Regions from separate parts of the Homo sapiens genome. Here regions 1, 3, 4, 5, 6 and 7 are each linked to region 2. The links are contacts of gene promoters, found by promoter capture Hi-C in blood cells and fetal thymus (Javierre and others, 2016). All regions are on one chromosome and are shown on one strand. The core of a region is centred on a gene start or on the middle of the fragment in contact, and the rest is flanking DNA. Distances in the headings are between cores, read along the strand shown.

Region 1 (4,070 bases), core at 70-2,569, 300 kb before region 2:
CTGAATAAATGAATCTGTCATCTTCCCTTTTTTGATCATTATCATAGGTATCATTTGTTAAGGGCTTACTAGGGATCAGACATTGAGCTGATGCTTTGCATGTATTACCTCATGAACACATCACAACAACCTCACCTGGCAGGTTGCATCTGTTTTGCAGATGAAGTCACTGAGGATCCAAGAGGTCATGGAGCAAATGCACTCTAGAACCTGGATCCAAACCACAGCTGACTCACTCAGAGTCTAAGTACTGAGCCCTTGCAAAGTACTACCTTGGGTCCTCAGTGACTCTGAGCATTAGGTCGGACATGTAGTAGGTTCTCAGGATATGTGTACTGAATTGAGTCTCTGTGTGATGGAGCTAACAGATGGTAAATGGAGGTCAGTATTTATGACCCATGGGGCTGATAATCTGAAGCTTCAATGCCTGAGGTGGATTCTGAAATCTGGAGCAAGGATTGGTAGAGTAGAAAATCTCTTTCTAACAATGAGATTCATTCTTGTGTGCGTGGAGAGTTTAACAGAGCTCCTTTCTTCCACCGTATGAGGGTGTGACTTCAAATTTTTCTTGAAATGCACATTTTTAATTAGAAGATTTTATGTGGGTTGCCAAGCTTCTGAGAACTAAAAGGACACTTGTGCCTCGGGGACACTTACAGAGACTGGTCCCTCGGTAAGTGCATAATAAAAAATACACAGAGAGCAACTGAAATTAAACCCACAGGGAACCCATTGCACTTGGTTTCAAATACCTAAAGACTTGACAGCTACAGAATAAAGAGAAAGAACAGAAACAAAAGTCAATGCCAATTTGCTTAATTTGGGGTTCTTTTTCCTGAGAGTATCTTTCTGAGAATCTAGAGTTGGCAGAAATGTTGGAGACTGTCAGGTCTAAGACCCCCTCCTGCAGATGGGAGACTGAGGCCCGAAGAAGTTGTGGCAAGGTCAAAGCAAGGTCAAACCAAGTGAGCTATGGGTCAGAAAGAAGAGAAGGCATCACTGTGTGCTACAGCAGGGCCCTAGGAGAAATTTGCTGGTGGTGAGGAAGATGGGGATTGGTGGGGATTGCAAGAGTAGGGGGTGGGGCGGACAGCTCTCTAGCAATATGGCTTCTGCTCTGTTCAAAGCGAAATTAGAAATTGTTCAAACAGAAAATGAGTATGTCAAGAAAATCACATGTCAAGGAATATAGAGTCACTTATTAGTGTTTGTCTCCAGAACATAATCTAACGGACTGTAGGAGAAATCCCAGATTCTCTTGGGCTCCTTTGCTGCCTCAAGCTCTCTTATACTTGAATCCCCCACCCTTAGACACATTGCTGTCCCTTAAACTTGAGAGTAGCGCCAATAAATCTCCAAATAGCCTGGACTGAACTGGAATCAGAATAATATTAATGCACTTAAGGAAAGAATGGGTCATTGAAAAGGTGAGGGGTAGTATCTTAGAATATATAATTCAAAGGGGAGAATAGCCTGGTACATTCAGCACTGCCCAGGTGAAAGGAATACAGTATGTGAAGGACGCTAGTAGCTCTAATCACCAGAGGTATAGGGTAGGATGTAGAAGTATTTCACAGGGAATTTTAATAAAATGTTTCTCCAAGCTGGATCTGATTCCATGGTTGCAAGTAATCTTCATAAACTTCAATGACCAGGCCAGGTGTGGTGGCTCACACTGGTAATCCTAGTATTTTGGAAGGCCAAAGTGGGAGGATCACTTGAGGTAAGGAGTTGAAGACCAGCCTCGGCAACATAGAGAGAGCTCATCTCTACAAAAATTTTTTTTTAATTAGCCAGGTGTGATGGTACGTGCCCATAGTCCTAGCTACTAAAGAGACTGAGGCAGGAGGACCCCCTCAAGCCCAGAAGTGAGCTACAGTGAGTTATGATCGTGCCACTGCACTCCAGCCTGGGTGACAGAGCGAGACCTTGTCACTAAAACATTTAAAAAACAAAACACAACAAAACTTCAACAATTGATGACCTGGTGTGTGTTATTTTTAAAATCTTGATTTTAAAGCTTGATTCTAGGAATGGGGTATGAGCATGTACACAGGACTGCTGAGAGCTGGTTTGAGCACAGTGAAGAAATGAGACTTGGAGCCCCATCAAAGGCAGACAGCTAGAAATCTTCACAGGGGATTTATGCTCAAGTCCAAGTCTCCTTTCCACCCTGGCAGCTCCAGCAGCCTGTCCTTAGCTTCCACTTCCTGTGTAGTTCATCAGCTCTGGATGGACATGAGTGGTCCTGTCACTGGGGAAAGAGATCATTCTTGCTATAAATACATGGATGGTGTGGCTTCAGTGTCCACCTCTGTGAAGTGAGTTGTTGAAACGATATCTTAGGAAGTCTATGAACCTGTGATATGGTTTGGCTGTGCCCCCACCCAAACCCCATCTTGAATTCCCACGTGTGGTGGGAGGGACTCAGTGGGAGGTAATTGAATCATGGGGGCAAGTCTTTCCTGTGCCGTTTTCATGACAGCGAATAAGTCTCACAAGATCTGATGGTTTTAAAAAGAAGAATTCCCCTGCACAAGCTCCCTCTCGTTGCCTGCTGCCATCCATGTAAGATGTGACTTGCTCTTCCTTGCATCCACCATGATTGTGAGGCTTTCCCAGTCACGTGGAACTGTAAGTCCAGTTAAACCTCTTTCTTTTGTAAATTGCCCAGTCTCGGGTATGTCAGCAGTGTGAAAACAACGGACTAATACAACCCAATAGGGGAGGATCTGATCCCAAAGCCTGATCATGCTCTGAGGCAACAAGCCCCACTTTGGAGACACCTTAGCAGGCAGCCATTCTTCACCAGGTGGCCCCATTCTCCATCGCCCAAGCACCGTCTTCTCAATGCTGCCCCCTGCTGATAGGCGTCTCTCACTCTGCAGTGCTGGGGTCCATGGCTGGCCATGACAGCAGGGTTTACCTGCCCTTGCCACTTGTTTTCACCTGACTGTGGTTAAGCCTCTTTACGTCCCTGAGTTTCTGTTGTTTCATATACACAGGAAAAATGCTGCTTCAGAACCTTTCTCACAGCCCAAATGAGAGCATGTCTAGGAAAAGGTTTTAAAAGCATCCATCGTTTTACAGATGTGATAGGCTGGTAACAACTCCATCAACACACATTTCTAAAGATGCTCCATGTACACTCATCAGTGTAATGCAAATCCCATGAAGATCCCCCTCTCCAGCCATTTCCCTTGAAACAGACACCTTGGACACCTGTCCAAGACAGGTGGCCAGATGCCAAGAGATCTGAGGGTGACCTTATTTTGTCCACCTTAGTGTTTTATTACAAAAAAAGAAAAGTCTTGATTTACTTCCATTAAGAAACCAAGTCTTATCTCCTAAACATAAGTCCATTTCTTCCTTGTTCTTTTTGGAATACCGAAAATGACCATGAAGAATCTAATTCACAAAACATCATGCACTTGAAGACGATCCTAATGGTACCTTTCAGTTTGCTCATCAGTAGACAAATTAAAATTATCTCGATTCCTATATATCATTCCCTACATTTTACTGTGTCCCATGTATCATTGTTTTTACTTCATTAGCTAAAAATTCAAAGCATTAGAAACCATTTTTACCTTTCTTTCTCCCTTCCTTCCTTCCTTCCTTTCTTTCTTTCTTTTCTTCCTTTCTTCCTTTCTTTTTCTTTTTTTGAAGACGGGGTCTCACTATGTTGCCCAGACTAGTTTAGAACTCCACATCTCAAGTCATCCCTCCACCTCTATCTCCCAAGTCGTTGGGATTACAGGTGTGAACCACCATGCCCATGTCTGGACCAATTTTTCTTTAATACCAAACAGCACAATTTGGGAATCTCTGTTTTCTTACAACTCGTCTACTACCAGACCATTTAACAGCTGTTCTGAACTAAAGGTGGGTATATTCACTTGCTTAGAACTTCTGCTTAAAATTTATTTATAATGCAGTTGTCCTAATAATAGTGTAGCTGTCCCAGTTGTCATAGTAGTACGGTATTTATAACATGACTAAATAAATCCCAAATATGGCTAAGATTCTGGAGGAGGAAATGAAGAACACTGAACTCTCTCATCCTTCCC
Region 2 (3,950 bases), core at 75-2,574:
TCACTAACAAGACTTGGCAAGATGTCGGGCGAATGATTTTTGGCTTCTGCACGGTCCCCACCGCGTGCGTGCACAAACCCCCAGCCAAAAGCCGCCTCTGGGAAATTAAATGCAAAAGAGAAATGGGGATGGGGAGGGCTGCTACGTGACCAGGAAAAAGGGATGCCCAGAAACATGAATCGGACCCAGAGCTGCTGAAGTCCTTTCAAAAGGTCATTCTTTGCGGGTACATTTTCCAGGGTCCAGCTCCGCAACAAATGTGGACCCTGTCATTTCCTGAAAGGATAATTCACAACTATGCAAGATAGGGTGAAGACGTTTCCCAAACCCGAAAACCTTGTTTTTCCCCCGACCAGGGTTAAATAAACATCTTTTAGGAAGCGTGGACAGGAGCGCAGCCTGCTCTCCTCCCTCGGAACACCATTCCGGCAATTAATGCCTCCCTTTGGGTAGTAAAGCAACAAACCCCACACCTCACTCCGATCCTGGGCTTCGGGCGGGAGGACTTTCTCTTTCATCTTCCAAGCAGGGGGTTGCCCACGTTCTTGGGGAAGCTATAAAACTGATTTAATGGCTTTAGATGAAAATCGATCACGCTAATGCATACGCTAACGTCTCAGGAATCGCATATTCAGAAAGGACTGGCCGGGCCGAAAGCGCACGGGGAGTCTGGGGCTAGGAGGTGTCAGGCCCCGCTGGGTGGGCAGCAGCGCTCCGGTCCCCTCTCCACTTGGGTAACCGGGAAAAACCTACGGGGCTGTCACGCGGGGAAGCGCGAAGGTGCCAAGGGATGAAAGCTCAAACCCGAGCCCTGGCCTCCTCAGCCGGCTATTTCCTTTGGCGCCGCCCGCCTAGCGGCGGGGTGCAGCGGCGGCACAGGTGCCGGTGTCGGGCTGGAGGCGCGGCGCAGGCTGGGCCCGCGGGTAGACGGCGAAAGGCGCCGCGCGCTCCATTCACAAAGTCCGGGCGCTGCCCGCCGCTGGCGGCGGGTCGGAGGCCGCCTCCCTCTTCCTCTCGGCCTCGGTTTTATGAATGGGCCTGATGGCGAGCACCCGGCGCCCTGTTTACTCCGCTCTTTGTGACGTCGAGTTCCCGTGACCGGGAGCCAGCGGCCGCGCTCCATTCAAGCTCCGGGGAGGGGGTGGGAGGAGGGGCCCGGAGGGGGCGGGGAGTCAGCGCGGGGGGCGGGGGACAGCGCGGGGGGCGGGGGACGGCGCGGGGCCCGGAATGGAACGGGGCGGGGCCTGGCGGGGTAGTACCTAGCGCCCCCTCCCCCGGGAGCGCGGAGGAGCATTAATAAACCTCTAAGCCGAGGAGAAAACTCTGGCTGGGGCAGTGCGCTGAGCGCCGGAGGAGCGTAGGCAGGGCAGCGCTGGCGCCAGTGGCGACAGGAGCCGCGCGACCGGCAAAAATACACGGGAGGCCGTCGCCGAAAAGAGTCCGCGGTCCTCTCTCGTAAACACACTCTCCTCCACCGGCGCCTCCCCCTCCGCTCTGCGCGCCGCCCGGCTGGGCGCCCGAGGCCGCTCCGACTGCTATGTGACCGCGAGGCTGCGGGAGGAAGGGGACAGGGAAGAAGAGGCTCTCCCGCGGGAGCCCTTGAGGACCAAGTTTGCGGCCACTTCTGCAGGCGTCCCTTCTTAGCTCTCGCCCGCCCCTTTCTGCAGCCTAGGCGGCCCGGGTTCTCTTCTCTTCCTCGCGCGCCCAGCCGCCTCGGTTCCCGGCGACCATGGTGACGATGGAGGAGCTGCGGGAGATGGACTGCAGTGTGCTCAAAAGGCTGATGAACCGGGACGAGAATGGCGGCGGCGCGGGCGGCAGCGGCAGCCACGGCACCCTGGGGCTGCCGAGCGGCGGCAAGTGCCTGCTGCTGGACTGCAGACCGTTCCTGGCGCACAGCGCGGGCTACATCCTAGGTTCGGTCAACGTGCGCTGTAACACCATCGTGCGGCGGCGGGCTAAGGGCTCCGTGAGCCTGGAGCAGATCCTGCCCGCCGAGGAGGAGGTACGCGCCCGCTTGCGCTCCGGCCTCTACTCGGCGGTCATCGTCTACGACGAGCGCAGCCCGCGCGCCGAGAGCCTCCGCGAGGACAGCACCGTGTCGCTGGTGGTGCAGGCGCTGCGCCGCAACGCCGAGCGCACCGACATCTGCCTGCTCAAAGGTAAACGAGGGCTCCGGGCGCTAGCTGGAGTCGGGGAGATGGAGGGGGTCTTGGCGGCCTGCGCCTTATTGGCACGGGAAGGAGTCCCCGGCGTGATTCGTGGTTGCGGGGATCCCCGCGCGCCCCTTTGTGTGTGTTGGTGTGTAGGGGTTTGCAAGGTTTCTGTGCAAGTGCGAGGTTCAAGTCCTCAGGGAAAGTGCGGACGGGTTTCTCCGGTCACCTGCAATTCCGCACCGTCCTAGCGAGGCCCCGTTTATTGACATTAACGGTCCTAGCCTCGAGGATGAAGCGACTCCTCTGCGCGGTCCATCTTGAGTCCCGGGAACAGTTTCCAAGTACCACGGGGCGCGTGGGGACAAGATAGGCCTGTTGGTTTGGCGTGCTGGGGCCCTACACTGAGCCGGACCGGGAGAATCCCAGAGGTGGAGAAAAGGTGAAGAGGGGTGGGCGCCGAGGTACAATTGGCCTTGCCAGTTTCACTGAAAACAAGACCCTGGCAAATGCAGAAAGGGAGATTGGGTTGCACACACTGTGTAGAGCGATCTGTATCTGCGTTCCCGCTGCCCAACTCCAAGCTCAGCTTGGAAGGTGGCCAATCCCCGTCCCGGGCTAGATCCAGGCTCTGGGAGCGGGAGGCTGAAGGACTGGGTATCTGGGGGACGCCGGGCGGAACCGGTCCTCTAGCGCCTGCAAATCCGGGCAGCGGAGAATGATCACCTTTTGTTCAGCCCGGATTTTCGACTATCTGATGGCGGCGCGTGCCGGATTTTAGCGAGCCCTGGCGAAACTCTCGGCGGCGAGACTGTCTTGTCACATTTGGTAGTCGGAAATCCTGGAAAAATCGCGTGCTGTCCGAGTCCCTGGAGGGACCTGGCGCCCGCCACACCTGCAGGGCAGGGTGGGTCCGCGGCCCTCGGGCTAGGGAGCGGGCAGGGCGCGTGGGGTCCGGGCGCCCCCCGCCGCGCTGCGCCTCCGCCTCCCGCCGCCGCATTCCGCGCATTCTTCCGCGCGGGTAGGGTCTGCGCTTCCGAGCCCGGTAGGCAGTTCAGACCCCCCCACACCCATCAAAGAGCCGCTCCTCCCCCCCGCAGGCGCCTTCGCCGCCTCCCTCCCTTCCTTTCCTTTCCGCTCCTCTTCCGACCTGTCCACCCGGGAGGAAGGGAGCTGGAAAGGGGGCGGAAACCTCTCCCCTCCAAAAAGCACAACAAAACTGTTCAGTGCGGAGGAGCCGGGTTCGCCCCTGCCGGACAGCGGGGGGCTTTGTTCCCCGCAGTTGTTTCCTGCCCATTTGACCTGTCAGCTGCTGGGGAAACGCTGCTGTTGACCTTTGGTTGAACTGCTAAGGCGATTTTGCTGATTTTTCTTTCTTTTTCCGCGAGGGCTGTCTTTTGCTCCTCCAAATGAGCCCAGTCCCCCTCCCTTCTCCCCAAAGCGCTCCAAGAGAAAGTGCCAGGAAGGGGCTTGTCCCGGAAGGCCTGGCGGCTGAGCGGGGCCAGGTCCTGGTTAGGCCACCAGGGTGGGCGTCCGCGCCATTGTTTGAGCTTGTCGGCGCTGGTGGGAGAGATGAGGGCAATTCCTCTGGGACGCAAGTCCCCTCGAATGGCCGGGGCTGGCCGGGATGTTCCCCGCACGGCGCTGCCCTCGAGTCCCCCCGATGGAGAGCGCGGGCGCGCCTTCCTTCGCTGGCGTCCAAACCCGGGACCAGCTAGAACACAGCAGGGCTGGGACTGGGTTCCAGCCCCACGTGGAGTCTGGATTTGTTTTGTTGTGTTTTGCTTTCCTTCCTGG
Region 3 (4,045 bases), core at 1,541-4,040, 500 kb before region 2:
TGGGATGGTATAGTTTATCATTATAAGCAACAGAGCTGGATTTCAAGGCTCTCATATTGATTGTCTAGGGCTACTGTAACAAATTACCATAAAGTTGGTGGCTTGAAATTACAGAAAAGCATTCTCTCACAGTCCTGGAGGCCAGAAGTGTGAAATCAAGGTGTTGGCAGGGCCGTGCTCCCTCTGGAGGCTCTGGGAGATTCTGTCTGTCTTGCCTCTTCCAGCTTCTGGTGGCTCCAGGTGTCCCTTGACTTATGGCCACATCACTCTAGTCTCTGCCTCCTTCTTCACACAGCCTTTTCTTTTGTCTGCATAATCTCCCTCTGCCTCACTCTTATAAGGGCCTCATCACTGGATTTAGGGCCCACCTGCATAACTCAGAATGCTCTCACCGTGAGATCCTTAATTTAATTACATCTGCAAAGACACGTCTTCCAAAAAAGCCACATTCACAGGTTCTGAGACAGGGACGTATGTATTTTGGGAGACCACCATTTACTCACTACACAGCTCTCTTTTGCAACTATCAAGTTATGCCATTGAAACTCTTTGAGTCTCACTGCTGTCATCTACATTTTCATGGGTATATAGCAACTGACTTTCTCATTTCACAGCTTGTGGAGATCCACACCTTCCCCTAAGTGGCTGAAGAGGCATGGGAGGGTGGGGAGGGCTGGAGCTGGGGAGTGGTCTCTGTTATTTGGGTAGGCATGTGGGGAGGCAAGAGGCGTGGGGGAAGGGAGAATGTGCTGTGTACTCTGCCCCACTGAGGGAAGGGAAACCATGGAAGAAGTAGCTGAAGCAGGAACTGTGGGCGGATGTGAGCAGCCCCCACATAGACACACACTACATGTGCTTGCCTGGGTCCTCAACTGGGAACACCAGCCCTGTTCATTTAAAAGCAGATGAAAAATCAAGAAAAACCGATGAGTCAGGGAGGAGGGCAAGGAGGATGAGAAAGGGAAAACAAGAAATAAAATACTGTTAGGTTCTGTCTTAGTCCATTTGTGTTGCTATAAAGGAATACCTAAGGCTGGGTAATTTATAAAGAAAAGAGGTTTATTTGGTTCACAGTTCTGCAGGCTATAGGAAGCATGGTGCTGACATCTGTATCTGGTTAAGGCTTCAGCCTGCTTCCACTCATGGTGGAAGGTTGAGGGAGCTGGCATATGCAGAGATCACATAGAGAGAGTAAGCAAGAGAGAGATGGTGGGGAGGGGCCAGGCTCTTTTTAACAACCAGCTCTCACCGGAACTAATTGAGCGAGAACTCACTTATGACCATAGGACATCACCAAGCTATTCATGAGGAATCTGCTTCCATGACCCAAACACCCCCATCAGGCCTTACCTCCAACATTGGGGATCAGATTTCACTATGAGGTTTGGAGGCATCAAATACTCAAACCATAGCAAGTCTTTCTCTGGTTATGTGTGAAGATAAAACAGAAAACCTCTGTTCTTCTTTAGAATTGTTTTTTTTAAACCCACAAGAAGAAAAAGAGGAGCCAGGACCCTGAGAGCTGCAGTGATCTGAGAGGAGAGTGTTCAGGGACACTCAGATGTCCTGGGCAGGAGGAGCCTCAGAAAGGAGTCCTTGGATAGGATGCTCTGCAGTTTAAAGTGTAGAAGGATTGCACCAGGGACAAAGTCCAGGGGAGCCCAAATTCTGGGTTCTTCTGAGATTTCCCTTCTGGTGTGGTTTGGCTGTGTTTCCACCCAAATTTCATCTTGAATTGTACTTCCCATAATCCCCATGTGTCGTGGGAGGGTCCTGGTGGGAGGTCATTGAACCATGGGGGCAGTTACCCTCATGCTGTTCTCGTGATAGTGAGTGAGTTCTCACAAGATCTGATGGTTTTATAAAGGGCTTTTCCCCCTTTTGCTTGGCACTTCTTCCTGCCGTCAAAGGATATGTTTGCTTCCCCTTCTGCCATGATTGTAAGTTTCCTGAGGCCTCCTGAGCCATGCGGAACTGTGAGTCAATTAAACCTCTTTCCTTTATAAATCATCCAGTCTTGGGCAGTCCTTTATAGCAGCATGAGAACAGGCTAATACACCTTCCCTCAGTGGGGCAGAGCACACTGCACATTCTCCCTTTCCCCCAAGCTTCTTGCCTCCCCCCATGCCTATGCAAATAACAGTGACCACTCCCTCACCCTAGTCCATTTGAATTCCAAGAAAGAAGGGAAAGCACTGTTGATGAATTGTTCACCCTGTGTGAGGACATGTGATCTTGCCTTGTGATGACCCCAGAAAAGGATTATTTAAATAGATGAGGAAACTTCAGCTCAGAGAAATCCAGTGATTTGCCTGAGGTCGCGCGGAGAAATTGATCTGCTTCAGGATTGAAACTCTAGTCTGTCTGGCTTCAAAGTTTCTGTTCTGTCTGCTCTCACTGGCTGCCCTTGAGGCTTCAAAGGAAGTAGCCCCTAACTGGTGCTTACATACGGCAGTTCTTTACTTCTGGTCTCAACTTTTGTTATTTCTCATTTAAAAAGCAAGTGGTGATCATTTGTGTTTCATAAAAGTATGTTATTTAATTGTAATCCTGTATTTCATTGCAAAAGGGTGACTGGTGCACGGTGTGTGCTCACATTCATATTACGACAAGTGTGTAAAATCACTGTGGGTGGCTTCCCAGACATGGTGCCTTTGGGGTTATGTAGCTTGATGGAAGAGCACGCCTTGAAGATTCAACTCCATTACACATTTGCAAATCTCGTAACTAGGGAAACTCTAGCCTAGTTTTCTATCTCTTCGAAATTTTGTCATTGAGGGTAGGGCCAAGATCAAAACACACAATTTTGCATCAAGGATGAATAGTAGCACTGTAGAAACACTGCTGCCAAATAGAGATGTCAAGAATGATTTTCTTCAAACCCACTTTTCCACAACAGTGACGTGTTTCAAGGAAGTGAGTTATCTACCTGAGGGAAGGACAAAAATGTCTTTTCCTTCAGGCCCAGGAAGATCAGATGGCTGAGTCACACCGACAGACAGTCTGTCAAAGTGCAGGCCCTTAAGTGGTTTCACATTTTAATCTTCTCATTGGAATTTCAAAGGTTTAGTTCTTTCAGAACCTCAGCCTCCCTGCTCTTTAAGTTTGCGTCAGAGCAAAGGGAGGAGTTCTGCAATTAGGCGCAAGTAACACATCTGGAATTTGAATGGATAGGTCCTGATTCCAGCCTCCGAAAGGTTTGAGATGAGAACAAAGTAAGCCAATGAGGAGAGATCCCCCAGGGATGAGGTTATGCCCCTGCCATTAACATTTACCGAACTGGAGAAGAAAAAAAGCAATAGCAGCAGTAATGGTGACAGATTCCATGTTTGTTGAGGTGCCAGGCTGTGGCATATCCTGTATGTGAGTCACCTCAGTCCTTTCCTAAAACTCAACATTCAGGTGATATGGGACCTGAAGGGGTTAGGAGCAGCCCCCGGAGACAGACTGCTGGGCTCAAACCCAAGCTTGGAAGAAGAGGGTACGTAGGGTCACGTATGTGAAGCACTTATAGGGCGTCTGGTACATTCTAAGTCCTGTACAAGTATTGGTGCTTATTATCCTCCTTCCTGTTTCTGAGGCTGGTGGAGCCTTAATGACCTCTCCAGGTTGAGAACTGACAGGAACTTTCCCACAGGGTTCCATCTCTCCACCTACAGTTTCTCCTGGCCACAGGCAATTCTTCATTTTGAGGAAGTGACCAGAGAAGGAAGGTTCTGGGAAAATGACTTGATTTTTATTCAGTGGTCTCGGAGGAGGACATTTATTCTGCCTACTAAATATGACACGATTCTGAGCTAGTCTCTCCCAGGCCCTCAGGCTTTTCTGGCCTGAACAGCCCTTGCAGTTGCCCAGCAAGAGTTGAGCTGCCCACCTGAGCTCAGGCCCTTCTCTGGCTCACAGAAGCCAAAGTCTCTTAATTAATTCACTCATTTTCCCTGAGTCTCTTCAGGAACTCTGTGATGTTTAACTACATCATCAATAAGCTCCCTTGTAGCTCTAAAATGCTGTAATTCTAATACCAATTAATATTTGGATGAACTCT
Region 4 (3,849 bases), core at 1,035-3,534, 440 kb before region 2:
CAGGCATGGTGGTGCATACCTGTAATCCCACCTATCTGAAGGCTGAGGAAGGACAGTCGCTTGAACCCGGAAGGCAGAGGTTGCAGTGAGCTGAGATCACACCACTGCACTTCCACCTGGGTGACAGAGGGAGACTCTGTCTAAAAAAAATCTTGCTCGGTCAGTTTAGTGAGAAACGCTACATCTTTGAAATCTGATCACTCTGGATGTATGATCAATTTCTGCTTCCCCCACTCTTGATATCTGGTCACCCTGGCTTGCCTTTAGCAAGAACCCTAAGTTGGTTTAACAAGAATCTCTCTGCTCTTGATTTCTCCTCTTAGGAATTTTCCACCCACTGATTCCCTCATTCTATTCATGGGCTATGAGTCCTCAGCTGTCTTTGTTATATTGGAATTGAGCCTGAATTCTCTAGCCTGTTGTAGTAAGTTTCAACACCCATCGTAATAGTCCTGAATAAAATCTTCATTATTGTTTTAACAAGTGGCAGAATAATTTCTTCTTTAACAATATAATCTATGGGTTTGGACTATATAAAATGTCATATAGTCACCGTTATAGTATCATACAGGGTAGTTTCAACTGCCCTAAAATTCCTCTATGCTCTGCTTATTCATCCCTCCCTCCCCACTAACCTCTGGCAACCACTGACTATAATAAAGACATCCCAGATACTTGCAGATTTCCTGATCTCGGGTGTTCTATGGGAGTTATGGAGGCCTGTGACCACACTTTGTCGTAAGAAGCTCATGGGAGGGTGGAGTTTTCCTTGCCCAAGAGTGATGCTGGCAGTAGAGGGTAATGGTGCCCATGGGAGCTGTGATCTCAGGAAGATTGGGGGCTGCAGAGAAAATGGTGGGAGACCAGGATGGAGAGGACCAGAGTTTCCTGAGCTCTGATGTCATATAGCTGGGAAGCTCAGAGAGCTGGGGGACACTTGGGGTGGGTGAGTGTCTCAGAGCAATATCTAGTAAGAGCTGACCCAGTTTATGAAAAGTTAATCAATTGCACCAAAACCATTTTTTAAGCAATCCTATCTTTCCTTACCATCTTTCAAATTTATTAAATTCTTACATACATCAAGACTTACTTCTAACTTGTCTATTCTCTTCAGTTGAACTGTCAGTTTCAGTGCCAGTCCCATGCTGTTTTACATATTATAACTTTATAATATATTTTAATGCCTGATGAGGCTAATGCTAGTATCTCCTCATTACTTTTATTTTGCCAAAATATTTGTCAGTATACTTACCCATTTATTTTTTTCAGATGAACTTCAGATCTCCTTTGTTACATTTCAAAAGAATATCTCTTGATATCTTAGTTATGATTGGGGAAGAACTGGCATCTTCCTTTGTACAAACCCCTGGACTATATGAATGAAATGAAGATGAGTAATCTGCCAGGAAGATTTGGAGATCAAATCCTAGACTTCTAACTCTTGGAAGTCTATGTGACAAGGAAGGTAAACAAATGGAAAACTTTAGTAGGAATATTTTTCTCCTCACTCTTTTTCTTACATGTCACTGATCTCTAAGACTTCATGACTTGCCTTTTCTTGATGCTTCCCGCACAGCTGTTTTCTTTTTCCTCACCACCAGCCCCCGAGCACGCACAGTGGAGGAATGAGAGAAGCTTACATAAAAATAACTCTTGTTAATTAAAAAATATCACTGAGTTCCATTATGCAAGTGAGGGATGCCACACTTAATTTGTCATGGTTTGCAGCACTAGGTCCCCCAGACTGATACCTTTCTTTGAAAGAAGAAGCTTGTCATCAAGCTGGTGGGTCTCTCAGGTCTGTTGTGGTTGTGATTCCAGATGTCAAGTCTCATCCCATTGTTGGTGGAAGTCTGGGATGCGGCCCTGCCTTCCAGCTGCTCTGGCTGTTGTTCTGTTATGGAAAATGGAAGCTGTGCTCCTGTGTTGGAAGATGGGAATTATCACTGGCGCATCTGTCAGCCTCCAGCTCTTTGATGGGGATTTTGCACCTTTCGCTTTTGCATTGTTTCACATTATGCATTTTGTAGGTCACTCCCCTGCAAGGCAGAGGGAAAAGGCCATTATTGGAGTACTTTTTTTTTTTTTTTTTAAGATTTACACTTTTTGCTTTTATTACAAAGTATTGTGAAATTTTCTGCTCCAACAGTCGTGAGAGTAGGAAATTTAAGTCTATCACTTCAGTAATATTTTGGCTCTTAGTTTAGGGTTCATCCTTTCCCTAGGGACTGCACTGAGATAAGTTAGATTGAGTGAAAGGTAAAGACTAACACTTTGAACTGATGTCATTTCCATTGTGAAGAACTAACTGCTAAGAGCAAGTTAACAGGCAGCAGTTTTGAGAGACAGAAAAGTCATCCAGACAGGAAGATTGGGAACTTCCTCAATGAGTTTGTCTTCCTCATTTATTACACTCAGTTTGTCAACAATCTTGTTAATTATACGTTTTAAAGGCAATTTTTTCACAAGCTCTAGGACACATTCAAAATATTACATACAAGTGTATGTTATAAATAATCCTCAAGTAAACATACATGTAACTACCACCATCTGGACATTTCACATCAAGTTATAAAACGCTTTCATCATCTGGACGACTTCTTGCTTCCCCTCCCGCCCCCCTCTCTCGGCTGTTTCCCCTCCTCCAGCCCCTAAGGACTGGTGTCTTTTATTTCCCCAGACTTACTCAAAGCCTTGACTTGGTTTTATGCTTTGCTCTTTATTGCACAGATCTGAACAAGGACGGCAGCTGGGGTGACATTTCATTTATCCAGAGATGCAAGGGTGCTGAAGCTTGACATCCTTATTTGCCATCATGAAAAGCATTTGAAAGGGGGAAAGAAGAAAATTGATTGCAGAAAACCTTAGATTGATGAGCATGAGTAAGGGCTGCAGGGGGCACTGGAAAATTCAGGTGCTGTCTCTTTTCTATGAATTCTGTCTTTCCTCCCTGATCTCGAAGACTCTTCAGTAAATAGAACACATCCACTTTACATACTAAGTGACAGAAAAACAATTTTCCATGACATGAGGACCTCCAGTCTATATTTTATTTCTTGTGGTAAAATATACATAACATTTACCATTTTAAACACTTTTAAGTGTACAATTCAATGACATTGAGTACATTTACATTTTTGTGCAAACGTCATAGTCATCTATCTCCAGAACTTTTAATCATCCCAAACAGAAACTCTGCACCTATTGAACATTAACCCCCATTCCTTCCTCCCTCCAGCCCCTGGTAATCTCTATTCGACCCTCTGTCTATATGGATTCGCCCGTTCTAGGTACCTCATGTAAGTAGATTCATATAATATTTGTCCTTTTATATCTGGCTTATTTCACTTAGCATAATGTTTGTGGTTCATTCATGTAGTAGCATGTGTCAGAACTTTATTCCTTTTTAGGCTTGAATAATATTCCATTCTATGTATATACCATATTCTGTTTATTCAGTCATCTGTTGGTGGACATCTGAGTTGTTTCCACATTTTGGCTATGGTGAATAATACTGCTGTGAATATTGGCGTCTGTTTGATTCTCTCTCTTCATTTCTTTTGGATATATACCTACGAGTGAAACTGCTGGATCATATAGTAATTCTGTTTAATTTTTTGGGGAACTACCAAAGTGTTTTCACAGTGACTGCACCATTTTACCTTCCCATCAGAAATGTACAAAGCTTCCAATGTCTTTACATCCTTACCAATATGTTTTTTTTTTAAATTTTTTGTTTTTTGGTAATGGCAATCCTATAAGTGTGAAATCGTATCTTGTTGTGGTTTTGATTTGCATGTCCCTAGTGGCTAGTGACATTGCACATCTTTTGGTACTTATTAGCCATTT
Region 5 (3,594 bases), core at 405-2,904, 480 kb before region 2:
ACTGGCCTGTGGCATGCATTTCATATGCAAACCAGCCAACCCAAAGACCACACCCCACCACCTCCTCTACAGGGCTTTCACACTTAGGGCAAAGATTCCCTTGCTTTAATCACCCAGGACCAGGTAACAGGCAACCAGAGACAGTTTGTATTCCCTAAAACCTGCTAAAGTTACTCAAATTAGCCGATTCTAAGCCTGCTTGCCTTGCCTTTCCCATTCCTTCCAGTGGAAACCACAATAAAGGGTGTTGCCTGCATTTTCCTCATCATTCCCTCTGCCTCCTGACTGACCCTGGTGCGTGACCAGTGGAAACCCCCACTCCTGGCACTTTATGCCGTCCCAGTCTTGGGAACTGTGAGTAACAAACTCTCATCAATGGCATTGCCTTCTCATCTGTTGACCTCACCATACCTGAATAATAAAACCTACATTTTAAAACAACATGCCCTCCATCAAACCCATGAAGGAAATGATATGAAAAAGAAATACATCTATAAACAGATATTCATTTAAATTGGGTATTTCAGCAATTTCAGAAAACTGTCCTAACTGGTTGCTATACAACAATTTTGTTTTTAGTTTTGTTTTGTTTTAAATGAGAATATTCATCAACTTTGACAAGCATGCATGCAAATAAATGAACATTTATATCTTGCCTGACTCACTTGTTGATGGGACTGTTGAGCTCACATACTACTGTGGTGGGCTGACTCCTATGACACTTTCTCTGAAACAGGTATCATCTGTCATGGTGTTATTTCATTAATAAGCAATGAAACACATAAATGTCTCTCTTGTTTGACATGGTACCACGACTGACCTACATTTATCACTCTGTGAAACTTATACCAAGATTGGAAATTCAGATAAAAGGGGAATATAGAAAAGTAGACATATAGAAGAGAGATTTTACAATGAATTTAGCTAAGCAATTGCTAAAATTCTGTGTATAGCCTGTGATTCCTTGTCTAAGCCAGCCTGGGATAAGCCCAAGATTACAATAATCACCAGCAAACAGGCTTTCTTTGACTTTGCTCACTCCTATTCTACCTGAAAGATTCCCTCAAGGTCCTACTCCATTTTTCTGGCATTTCATGAGGCTTGGAGGACCTAGTTACCCGTAGCATCTGCCATCTTCTCTGTCTTTGCTCTGCTTGGAGATTTCTCCTGCATCTGCTGTGAACTGCAAGGGTCCTACCTCTGGGGATCCTGACACCTGAGGATTTCATCCCATGTCAGTGTTAAAGTTGCTGCGAAAGTTGTTGGCAATAGTGATGCTGTTCCCTTGTACTCTTGAAGTCTGAGAGAGATGGTAGCATGAGAAAGATTTCACTTTGCTCATCCTCTTTTACTGTAGTTCCCTTCTCTTGAGGGCTGCCCAGGAAGACAATCTGTGGGACAGACACTGGGAATGCTGGATCATCTTTTCCTTCTGAGGCTGCTCCACTGTCCTTGAATCAAACTCTGGGGTCAAACTCTTTATTCCCTTGGATGAGTTGTTTCCAAGAGCTCATTTTTAGGTAATGTGGAAGTAAATGAAGATCAATCAAATGAAAACAAGCACAGACTATTTATTTAGAGCTTACTATATCAAGAGAAACAACCATCATCATTTGCTTTTGACAGAGACTCAAAGGCAGGCCACGGAGTGGGAAATCATTTATAGTGGATAAAAGGCAAGGCTTCAGGTGTGCCCTGATTGGAGGCTGTTAGCATGGAAAAGCTGTGGACAGGCCATCTCATAGTGTGACAATCTATATAATTGGTTAGGGGAGCATACTGGGCTCTCTGGTTGGTCCTGAGTTGGAAGTGGGGACAATTATTAGGGAAGCTGTCAGATATAAACCAAGTCTTGGCTGTTTGGGGCCAATTGTTACAGGGATTATTGTCTGGCTTCCTGGGATGGTTTCTAGAGATAGTGGTCTAATCTGTTACAATCTGACTTATAGATAGCAAGCTGTCTTCCTGGGCTGGTTATTGTAGATAATGGATTAGGTTTCTGGAATAGTTGCTGTAGACTGGGTTAGGGTTCTATTTTGATATATAGTCTGGCTGTTGTCTATTTGTATATTCAGTTTCTCAGCAAATTGACAGCCAGTGAGTCTATCATTCACTCTCCCTCTGCCTCCATATTAGGGCTCTCCAAGAAACAGAACCAATAGGAAATTGGTTCTGTTATATGTGTAGAAAGAGATTTATTATAAGGAATTGGATAACATGATTATGGAGGCTGGCAAGTCCAAATTCTGCTGGGTGCAGATATGGGAGAGCCAACATTCCAGTTCCAGTCTGAAAGCAGTCTACTATAGAATCAGGAAGAACTCATATTGCAGATGGAGTCTGAAGGCAGTCCGCTGGAAAATTCCCTCTTGCTTGGGGACACTAGTGTTTTTGTTCTATTCAGGCATTCAGCTGATTGGATGAGGACCACCCACAACTGCTTTACTCAAAGTCCACCAATTTAGATGGGAATCTCATCTAAAACACCCTCACAGAAACACCCACTGTAATGTTTGACCTGACATCTGGGCACCACGTGGCCCAGCAAGTTGATCCATAAAATTAACTATCACATCCCCAAACCCTCACTCATGAATCTCAAGGTGAGCCAGTGACTTTTACTTCCTCTCAAGTTGGACCCTTGCTCCATGGTTACACATCAAGGTGGTAGAAAGTCTCTATTCTCCTTAGCATCTCTAGAAGCTAATGCAGAGCCATCTCTGTGTTTATGGCAGGACTTGTGAGTAGAAATGCCTTCTGGAGCACCCTCATTCCAATTGGATGTGAGAAGAGGAAAACTCATTCAGGCATACAGAAGGACAAAGCTCTCAAATTGGAGGGGCTGTGGCATTCCACATGCCACCCCTTGAAAAGAGTTTTAGTATGGTCTTCCAAACCACTCTATTGCCTCATTTCATCTCTCCAGGAGGGTCTGGGCCCATCTTGACAGTAGCAAGGTAGGTGTTTGGAAACCTGTCAGGATCCCTCAGATTCCTTCAATAGGGGAGTCTCCCAGCACCCCGAGGGATCAAAGTGGTGAGCAAAATTGCACAGTTCTTTTCTATCCTGCTTCACTGGAACGGACAAGCAAAGGACTGAGAATCTTCAAGCAGGCAGGCAGCTAAGGTTGCAGGGTAGCATATTATCTACAACAAGATCATCTCATTTTAAATTCGTTCTTTGACTCTTTTACCAGGTTTTTTTTAATTTTTCTTGTCAGTAAAGCCCATAAAATGTAGAGTCTTATCAATAGTATTCAAAGCAGATTTAAAATGTAATTACCCTTTTCTCCCTGCTAGTACAACCCAGCCTGAATCATCTCATCTGATTTAAGAAATAATCTTGTTAAGCTGAAAAATGAAACTCTCCCAGTTTTTTCCTCCTCCCTTTGTCCCTTTTTTCATTTTTCCTTCCCTTTTCTATTTATTCACTCTGAGCTCTCTATCCAAAAGGCATTTGTTAAGCACTATGCCAATAATTGGTGGTATAAAGATGAATGAGAACCATCCTTGCTTTTGAGATGATCACTGTCTAGTGGGGGAGGTAGAAATAAAAACAAATCTTTATAAAGCATCATGGTAAAAATGGATTCAA
Region 6 (3,812 bases), core at 652-3,151, 460 kb before region 2:
TGTGCTCTAGTTCTGGCCCTCAGAAAGTGCTCAGCACTGGGGACCAGGTGGAAACAGAGAAGTGTATCATTGTGCAACTCTTCAAGGGCTACAGGAGTTTCCAGCAGGAAAATTTAATTTGCTAGCTGGAACAAGAGGGAAGAGGCCATCCTGGCTCCACTGGAGAGTCTCATGTTGGGAACAGGGGTGGTAATGCTGAAAGGAAGGGAGAAGTCAGACTAACAATAAAGGCAAACAAGTTTGGACTTCATCAGCAATAAGGCACCAGTGTCAACATTTGACTAGTGGAGTTACAGCATGAGATAGACTCCTTAGAAAATGTGTCAGTTAGGAATGCATTTGGCTGCACCAACCACTGTGGTCTAAACACACCTGGGTAGATTTTTTTCTTGTCTATAACAAGACATCAGTAGGTGGCAGGTACTGGTGTTGGCTTAGCAGTCGGGGTTACTGTGACATTAGAATGCAGACATACTGGTGCCAGGGTTATTTCTGCAATTTCCTTAGCCTTTTACTCATGGTTGCAAGACAGCTGCTATGGTGCCTGCTCACATCTCTACGTAAGCCAAAAAGAGAAAAGATAGAAAAAAAAAAAAAAGAGTGACTGCGGGGGGGTTTTGCAGCAGTTAAGTCATTCCTTTTAAATCACAAAAAACTTTCAAAGAAGCCCCCAATCCCAGACCCCCTAAAACAAAACTAAATTTCTGACTTTGTCTTAAGGGCCATAGCTTGGCTACATGGCTATCTTTGATGCAAAGAGGATTTCCAGCCTCTTACAGAAGTCATTCCCAAGCCTGCTTTCCCTCACAGCCTCCTATTACACATCATGCATTGATTGAAAAAAAATTTTTTTTTGTGCTAGTTAACTGTGAGCATCTTAAGAAACTTCCCACCTTTGTGTCTGGAGCATTAGATGCAATGCTGGGTTCACAGTGATCCTTCATTCACGACTGTGGGTGTGAATGCAGTGAAGACAGCTCGGATGGGGAACTCCCTGCCTCTATTACTTCTCTTAAATAACCAAACGTCTGAAGTGTTGGCCAGAATGTGTGTTAATATTCTGGCCCTATTCCAGCATATTTCATAGCAGCCATTAAAGAATATATTCTTAGGTTTGCACTTATAAAACTTTATTGGCTTAATCCATTTATTATCATACATTTGCAGTTGAAGTCTTGAAGTGTAGCTTAGCTACATAGCTGCACCTACCCATTGGTACAAGCCACAGCATGCAAGTTGGTGAGCTTCTGGCAACAGTTTTTGTTTGTTTGTTTGTTTGTTTGTTGAGATGGAGTCTCGCTCTATCGCCCAGGCTGATACAATCAAGGCGAAACTGTAACTTTCGCCTCCTGGGTTCAAATGATTCTTATGCCTCAGCCTCCAGAGTAGCTGGGACTATAGGCATGCACCAATAAGCTCAGCTAATTTTTGTATTTTCGTAGAGGTGGAGTTTCACCATGCTGGCGAGGCTGGTCTCAAACTCCTGACCTCGGGTGATCTGCCCACCTCAGCCTCCTAAAATGCTGGCATTACAGACATGAGCCACCGTGCCTGGTGACTGGTGACAGATTTAATTACTTTACCAGCTCTGAACAACCTCTATCCATGGTAGATAACTGTAGTGGTTTTTGCTCTTTCCTGAATGACTATTAAAAAAAAATTTCTTAGTTTGATCAAATAATTTGCCTTGCTTCATCCATAATTCTGCTTCATCTCAATTGAGCTTATTTTATTAAAGGGCAGGAAGTCCTCTGAATTTCTATTTCTGGACAGGTTTCTGTGGGAGTCTTTTTAATGTTTTTCCTGCTGCCTTTTCTCCTTTATCTTTACAAGTTCCGGTTCTATAAAACCGGTCATTTTTACTGACCATTACTGCAGGCTGAATTTTTCCCTATAAACCCTAATTTTGTAATCTGGGAGCAATATACATTGCTAATGTGATTTTTGTTCCCTTCTCTCCTTCTGAGTCTGGAAGAGTAGCCTTTCTTTTGTAGATTTATGGTGAGGTCTTGTACTCAGCGCTCTCACAATGCAGATGAGTTTTCTGACTATAATGGACCATTTTACAGCCTTATGGTTTGCCTATTTCTCAATGAATTTAATATTTTCTTCAATTTGTGAGCTAAATGTTAACTCCTGGGTTTTTTTTATTGATCCAGTACTATTATAAAATGCATGTTTCTTTATGTCTAGAGCCTATGACTGCAATTACTGCGTGTGAAGATTATGTACAGATTCTAATATGCATATTAATCTCACTATGCTATGGAACTGGTCCTTGCAGAGTTGTGCCTCATGAAGGGACACTGTAACCTCAAATGCTTTCTAAATGGATGGCCCCAAAACAGCAATGTCTCCCCTACACATACCCTCCCCTACTGGTGGCTGTCTTTATGGTAGAAGGGGAAGACAGCAAACATCCTACAGTTGTAGATTTTGGAAGTGGAGCATGAAAAAAATAAAACTGACCCTTGTGAGATTCATTTGTTTACAGAACAGGATTTTGTGGTCCAAACCATGCCTCTGGATGCCCTGGGGGCGGCAGTAAATGGAAGCCTCTGGCTGGAGGGAGAAGCGTAGCTGCCCAGCTACTCACATATTCATATATTCTCTCTCGCTTGAGGCTGAATATATTTCTACCTAGCAAGGAAGCCGTGCTGACACACAGCCCCAGCACAGAATTCCACATTCCTTTGTGTTCAGGGAACAATGATTTAGGTTAGCTGGGATTAACCCACAGTTGAACCTCGGCGAGATGGGTTCCGAGTCTCTCAATGAATTCAGCAGTCACTGACAGCTTCGTGAATGGGATTCGCTGCCTGATGCATGAGCTGAGTTGTCACAGGCAGGGCGGGGAAGGCAGGCTGGAAAATCCCCATGCCTGGCTGCCTCCCGATGTGTCCCCCAAGATTGCGCTCTGGGGGTTTCTGTGAAGGGGAGCCCTCCTATTGCCAGCCTGCTCAGACCACACAGGCACGCACAGCCCTGCCTCACGGAAGCATCTGACAATTTTTAAAAAGTCCTTTCTGCAGAGAGCCCAGAGCCTGCATGTTTTAACCCCCAAGTGGTAGCAGGCTTGTTTTGATAGTTGGAGCCAGACATTTATATCTGTATAAAATAATACTGGACGATGAGGAATATGCATGAGATCATGAAAATAAGCAGTAAAGGCAGATTTTGATAGCCTCTCTCTAGAATTGTTAAGCCTTTCTTTTTTTTTCTTTTGAAAAGGGGATAGAAGAGCTGCACATCTAATATAATCAGTCCTTTTTGGAGAAATGTGTGAATGGGCTACTGTCAGTCCAAACAGGCGTCATTTAGTGTCCATCCATCTTATTTCTCTCACTAACATGTCAGTCTCCCTTGTCTTCCACTCACATCATTCAAGGTGAAAAACACTGAATAGGTTCTTGTTGTTCTTTGTATTTTTTTCATTGTTCTAGGGCTGTGCTGATGCCGACACATCAAGTCTATGATTTGGAGGAGAAAGGAGGTAAGGAGGAGAGAACCAACATGCATTGAGCACCTGTGATGTGCTAGGCTTCATACCCATCATCTTATTTAATCTGCCCACATTTAAGATGTGGTGATGTCATCCCCACTTCCTGACTGAAGACACCACAGTTGAGACAGCTCCAGAAAGGGTTCCCACGTCTTGCAGAGGTTAGAGACAGAGGTTAGAGTCTGCCTCAACACACCCCTGAAAACCCCATGTGGCCTAAAAAGCAAAGCATTTAAAGTAGTATTCATAGTGATCTATTTCATTTGTATATGCTGACTTACATATGTCAATTGCTGTATCTTAGACAATG
Region 7 (3,770 bases), core at 465-2,964, 350 kb before region 2:
TCCTTAAATCCTACTACTAGGTATCTACCCAGAGGAAAATAAGTCATTATACGAAAAAGACAGCTGCACATGCATGTCTATAGCGCACGATTACCAATTGCAAAAATATGGAACCAACCAATGCACATCAACTAATAAGTGGATAAAGAAAATGTGGTATATGTACACCATGAAGTACTACTCAGCCATAAAACGGAATGAAATAATGGCCTTTGCAGCAACTTGGATGGAGCTAGAGGCCATTATTCTAAGTGAAGTAACTCAGGAATGGAAACCCAAATATTACATTTTCTTACTTACAAGTAGGAGCTAAGCCATGAGGATGCAAAGGCATAAGAATGTTGTAATGGACTTTGGGAACTCAGGGAGAAAAGTGGGAGGGGGGTGGGGGATAAAAGACTACACATTGGATATGGTGTACACTGCTCAGGTGATGGGTGCCCCCTTATCTTAGAAATCACTACTGAAGAACTTATCCATGTAACCAAAAACTACCTGCACCCTGAAAACTATTGAAATAAAAATGAATAAATAAAAATAAAAGAGGCCTGAGAGAGCTGCCTTGCCCTTTTGCCATGTGAGGACACATACAAGGCACCATCTGTGAGGAGTGGGTCCTCACCAGACACTGAATCTGCTAGTGCCTTGATCTTGGACTTCTCAGCCTCCAGAACTGTAAGCAATACATTTCTGTTCTTTATAAATTACCCAGTTTAAGGTATTTTGATATAGCAGCCTGAATAAACTAAGACAATTGGAGAATCTCAAATGTCAGAGTCTTTCAGTCTCTTTTTATGGGGTTAGTCAGCTTCCTTAGAGAAGCTCTTACAACTTGATATGGTTTGGGTCTGTGTCCCTGCCCAAATCTTATGTCAAACTGTAATCCCCCGTGTTGGAGGAGGGGCCTGGTGAGAGGTGACTTGATCATGGGAGCAGATTTCCCCCTTGCTTTTCTCATGATAGTGACTAAGTTCTCATGAGATCTGGTTGTTTAAAAGTGTGTAGCACCTCTCCCCTCTCTGTCTTCCACCTTCTCAAGCCATATGAAGTGTCAGCTTCCCCTTCACCTTCCACAATGAGTGAAGCTGAGCAGATGCTGCTATGCTTCCTTTACAGCCTGCAGAACCATGAGCCAATTAAGTGTCTTTTCTTTATAAACTACCCAGCATCAGTGTTTCTTTATAGTAATGCAAGAACAGATTAACACACAGCCTCATCCCTGGAGGTTAAGAGTCTCGGCAGGGGCTGTCAATTTTAGTATTTAAGCTTTGATTAATCTCCCTATTTTATTAAGTTACCCATGCCTTCACCTGTAGCTGATAACCCTAGTTCATAGGCTTCTTGTGACCTACCTCTTCACAGAATAAACAGCTGGTCTTCTGCCAGAGGTAGAGGACTTTTATTCACCTTTAGAGAATGAGAAATGATCTAAACGTCTAAGTGCCATATAAGTCCATTCTCGCACTGCTATAAAGAACTACGTGAGACTGGGTAATTTATGAAGAAAAGAGGTTTAATTGACTCATAGTTCCACAGGCTGTACAGGAGGCATGGCTGGGGAGACCTCAGGAAACTTAAAATCATGGTGGAAGGTGAAGGGGAAGCAAGCACATCTTCACATGGCCAGTGATTGAGAGAGAGAGAGAGAGCAAAGAGGGAAGTACTACACACTTTCAAACAACCAGACCTCATGAGAACTCACTCGCTATTACAAGAACAGCAAGGGGAAAGTCTGCCCCCATGATTCAATCACTTCCTACCAGGCTCCTCCTCCAACACATGGAGATTATGATTCAACATGAGATTTGGTTTTAGAAACAGAGCCAAACTATACCATTCTGCCTCTGGCCCCTCCCAAATCTCACATCCTTTTCACATTTCAAAACAAAATCATACCTTCCCAACAGTCCCCCAAAGTCTTAACTCATTCCAGCATTAACTCAAAAGTCCAAGTCTAAAGTCTCACCAGAGACAAGGCAAGTCCCTTCCATCTATGGGTCTGTAAAATCAAAGACAAGTTAGTTATTGCCAAGATACAAGGGGGGTACAGGTATTGGGTAAATGCTCTGGTTCCAAAAGGAAGAAATTGGCCAAAACAAAGGGACTACAGCCCTATGCAAGTCCAAAATACAGCAGGGCAGTCGTTAAACCTTAAAGCTTCAAAACCTCCTTTGACTCCATGTCTCACATCTGGGCCATGCTGATGCAAAGACTGAACCCTCAAGGCTTTGGGCAGCTCTTCCCCTGTGGCTTTGCAGGGTACATCCCCTGTGGCTGCTTTCATAAGCTGGCGGTGAGTGCATGCAACTTTTCCAGGTGCATGGTGCAAGGTGTTGGGTGGATCTACAATTCTGGGGTCTGGAGGACAGTGGCCCTCTTCTCAGAGCTCCAATAGGCACTGCCCCAGTGGGGACTCTGTGTGGGGGCTGCAGCCCCACATTTTCCCTCTGCACATTTTCCCTCTGTGCTGCCTTAGTAGAGGTTCTCCATGAGGGCTCTGCTCCTGCAGCAGACTTCTGCCTGGATATCAGGCATTTCGATACATCCTCTGAAATCTAGGTGGAGGCTCCCAAACCTCAACTCTCACACTCTGTGCACCTGTAGGCTTAACACCACATGGAAACTGCCAAGGCTTGGGTCTTGCACGCTCTGAAGCACCCTCTGAAGAAATGGCTTGAGCTGTACCTTGGCCACTTTTAGCCACTGCTGGAGCTAGAGTGACAGGGATGTAGCGTGCCATGTTCTGAAGCTGCACAGAACTGTGAGGCCCTAGGCCTAGACCATGAAACCATTTTTTTTTCCTTCTAGGTCTCCAGGTCTATGATGTGAGGGGCTGCTGCAAAGGTCTCTGAAATGCCTCTGAGGCATTTTTGCCATTGTCTTGGCTATTAACATTTGGTCCCTGTTTGCTTATGCAAATTTCTGCAGCTGGCTTGAGCTTGAATTCTTCCCCAGAAAATGGATTTTTCTTTTCTACCACATGGTCAGGCTGCAAATTTTCCAAACTTTTATGTTCTTCTTCTCTTTTAAATGTAAGTTCCAGTTTTAGATTATCTCTTTGCTTATGCAGATGAGCATAGGCTTTTAGAAGCAGCCAGATCACACCTTGAACACTTTGCTGCTTAGAAATTTCTTTTGCCAGATACCCTAAATCATCTTTCTCAAGTTCAAAGTTCAATAGATCCCTAAAGCAGGGGCACAATGCTGCCAGTCTCTTTGCTAAAGCATGGCAAGTGATTTTTACTCCACCACAGCCTGGACATCATTGTCCATATCACTATCAGCATTTTGGTCACAACAATTTAGCCAGTCTTTAGGAAGTTCCAAACTTTCCCTCATCTTCCTGTCTTCTTCTGAGTCCTCCAAACTGTTTAAACCTCTGCCCATTACCCAGTTCCAAAGTCACTTCCACATTTTCAGGTATCTTTAAAGCAATGCCCCACTTCTCTGGTGCCAATTTTCTGTATTAGTCCATTCTCACATTGCTCTAAAGAACTTTCTGAGACTGGGTAATTTATGAGGAAAGGAGGTTTAATAGACTCACAGTTCTGCAGACTGTACAGGAGGCATGGCTGGGGATGCCTCAGGAAACTTAAAATCATAGCAGAAGGTGAAGGGCAAGCAAGCAAATCTTCACATGGCCAGCGAGAGAGAGAGAGAGTGAAAGGGGAAGTGCTACACACTTTCAAATAACCAGGTCTCATGAGAACTCACTCACTATCATGAGAACAGCAAGGGGGAAGTCTGCCCCCATGATTCAATCACCTCCC

The links. The method cuts DNA at HindIII sites, captures the fragments that hold promoters and counts their contacts. A CHiCAGO score of 5 or more calls a contact.
Region 1: a fragment that was not itself captured here is called in contact with the fragment with the promoter of DUSP4 in region 2 in 8 of 17 cell types (M2 macrophages, non-activated CD4 T cells, activated CD4 T cells and 5 more); the score reaches 8.8 in M2 macrophages.
Region 3: a fragment that was not itself captured here is called in contact with the fragment with the promoter of DUSP4 in region 2 in 1 of 17 cell types (M2 macrophages); the score reaches 5.2 in M2 macrophages.
Region 4: a fragment that was not itself captured here is called in contact with the fragment with the promoter of DUSP4 in region 2 in 1 of 17 cell types (M1 macrophages); the score reaches 6.8 in M1 macrophages.
Region 5: a fragment that was not itself captured here is called in contact with the fragment with the promoter of DUSP4 in region 2 in 2 of 17 cell types (M2 macrophages and M0 macrophages); the score reaches 5.7 in M2 macrophages.
Region 6: a fragment that was not itself captured here is called in contact with the fragment with the promoter of DUSP4 in region 2 in 2 of 17 cell types (naive CD4 T cells and total CD4 T cells); the score reaches 5.9 in naive CD4 T cells.
Region 7: a fragment that was not itself captured here is called in contact with the fragment with the promoter of DUSP4 in region 2 in 11 of 17 cell types (activated CD4 T cells, M2 macrophages, naive CD4 T cells and 8 more); the score reaches 9.4 in activated CD4 T cells.

What each region holds. Positions count from the first base shown.
Region 1 is chr8:29,646,272-29,650,341 of GRCh38, reverse strand. No RefSeq gene overlaps it. Among named protein-coding and RNA genes, the nearest start is that of LINC02948, 86 kb to the right of the region's middle. The HindIII fragment of the contact is 1,406 bases long and covers 617-2,022 here.
Region 2 is chr8:29,348,058-29,352,007 of GRCh38, reverse strand. DUSP4 (dual specificity phosphatase 4) reads left to right here and starts at 1,324. Exons shown (of 4, transcript NM_001394.7): 1 at 1,324-2,162. The coding sequence starts at 1,730. It overlaps LOC124901924 (a long non-coding RNA gene), which reads right to left and starts at 1,034. Exons shown (of 2, transcript XR_007060876.1): 1 at 474-1,034. RefSeq lists enhancers at 407-516, 557-626, 1,325-1,824, 2,147-2,296, 1,825-2,326 and silencers at 817-956, 1,147-1,466, 3,037-3,206. The HindIII fragment of the contact is 21,736 bases long and covers 1-3,950 here.
Region 3 is chr8:29,852,406-29,856,450 of GRCh38, reverse strand. No RefSeq gene overlaps it. Among named protein-coding and RNA genes, the nearest start is that of LINC02209, 67 kb to the left of the region's middle. RefSeq lists a silencer at 3,004-3,298. The HindIII fragment of the contact is 1,359 bases long and covers 2,111-3,469 here.
Region 4 is chr8:29,789,285-29,793,133 of GRCh38, reverse strand. LINC02099 (long intergenic non-protein coding RNA 2099) reads right to left here. Exons shown (of 4, transcript NR_125815.1): 2 at 2,687-2,802; 3 at 1,253-2,039. Among named protein-coding and RNA genes, the nearest start is that of LINC02099, 43 kb to the right of the region's middle. The HindIII fragment of the contact is 1,023 bases long and covers 1,773-2,795 here.
Region 5 is chr8:29,829,038-29,832,631 of GRCh38, reverse strand. No RefSeq gene overlaps it. Among named protein-coding and RNA genes, the nearest start is that of LINC02099, 83 kb to the right of the region's middle. The HindIII fragment of the contact is 5,163 bases long and covers 1-3,594 here.
Region 6 is chr8:29,806,386-29,810,197 of GRCh38, reverse strand. No RefSeq gene overlaps it. Among named protein-coding and RNA genes, the nearest start is that of LINC02099, 60 kb to the right of the region's middle. The HindIII fragment of the contact is 3,973 bases long and covers 1-3,812 here.
Region 7 is chr8:29,701,339-29,705,108 of GRCh38, reverse strand. No RefSeq gene overlaps it. Among named protein-coding and RNA genes, the nearest start is that of LINC00589, 45 kb to the left of the region's middle. The HindIII fragment of the contact is 891 bases long and covers 1,269-2,159 here.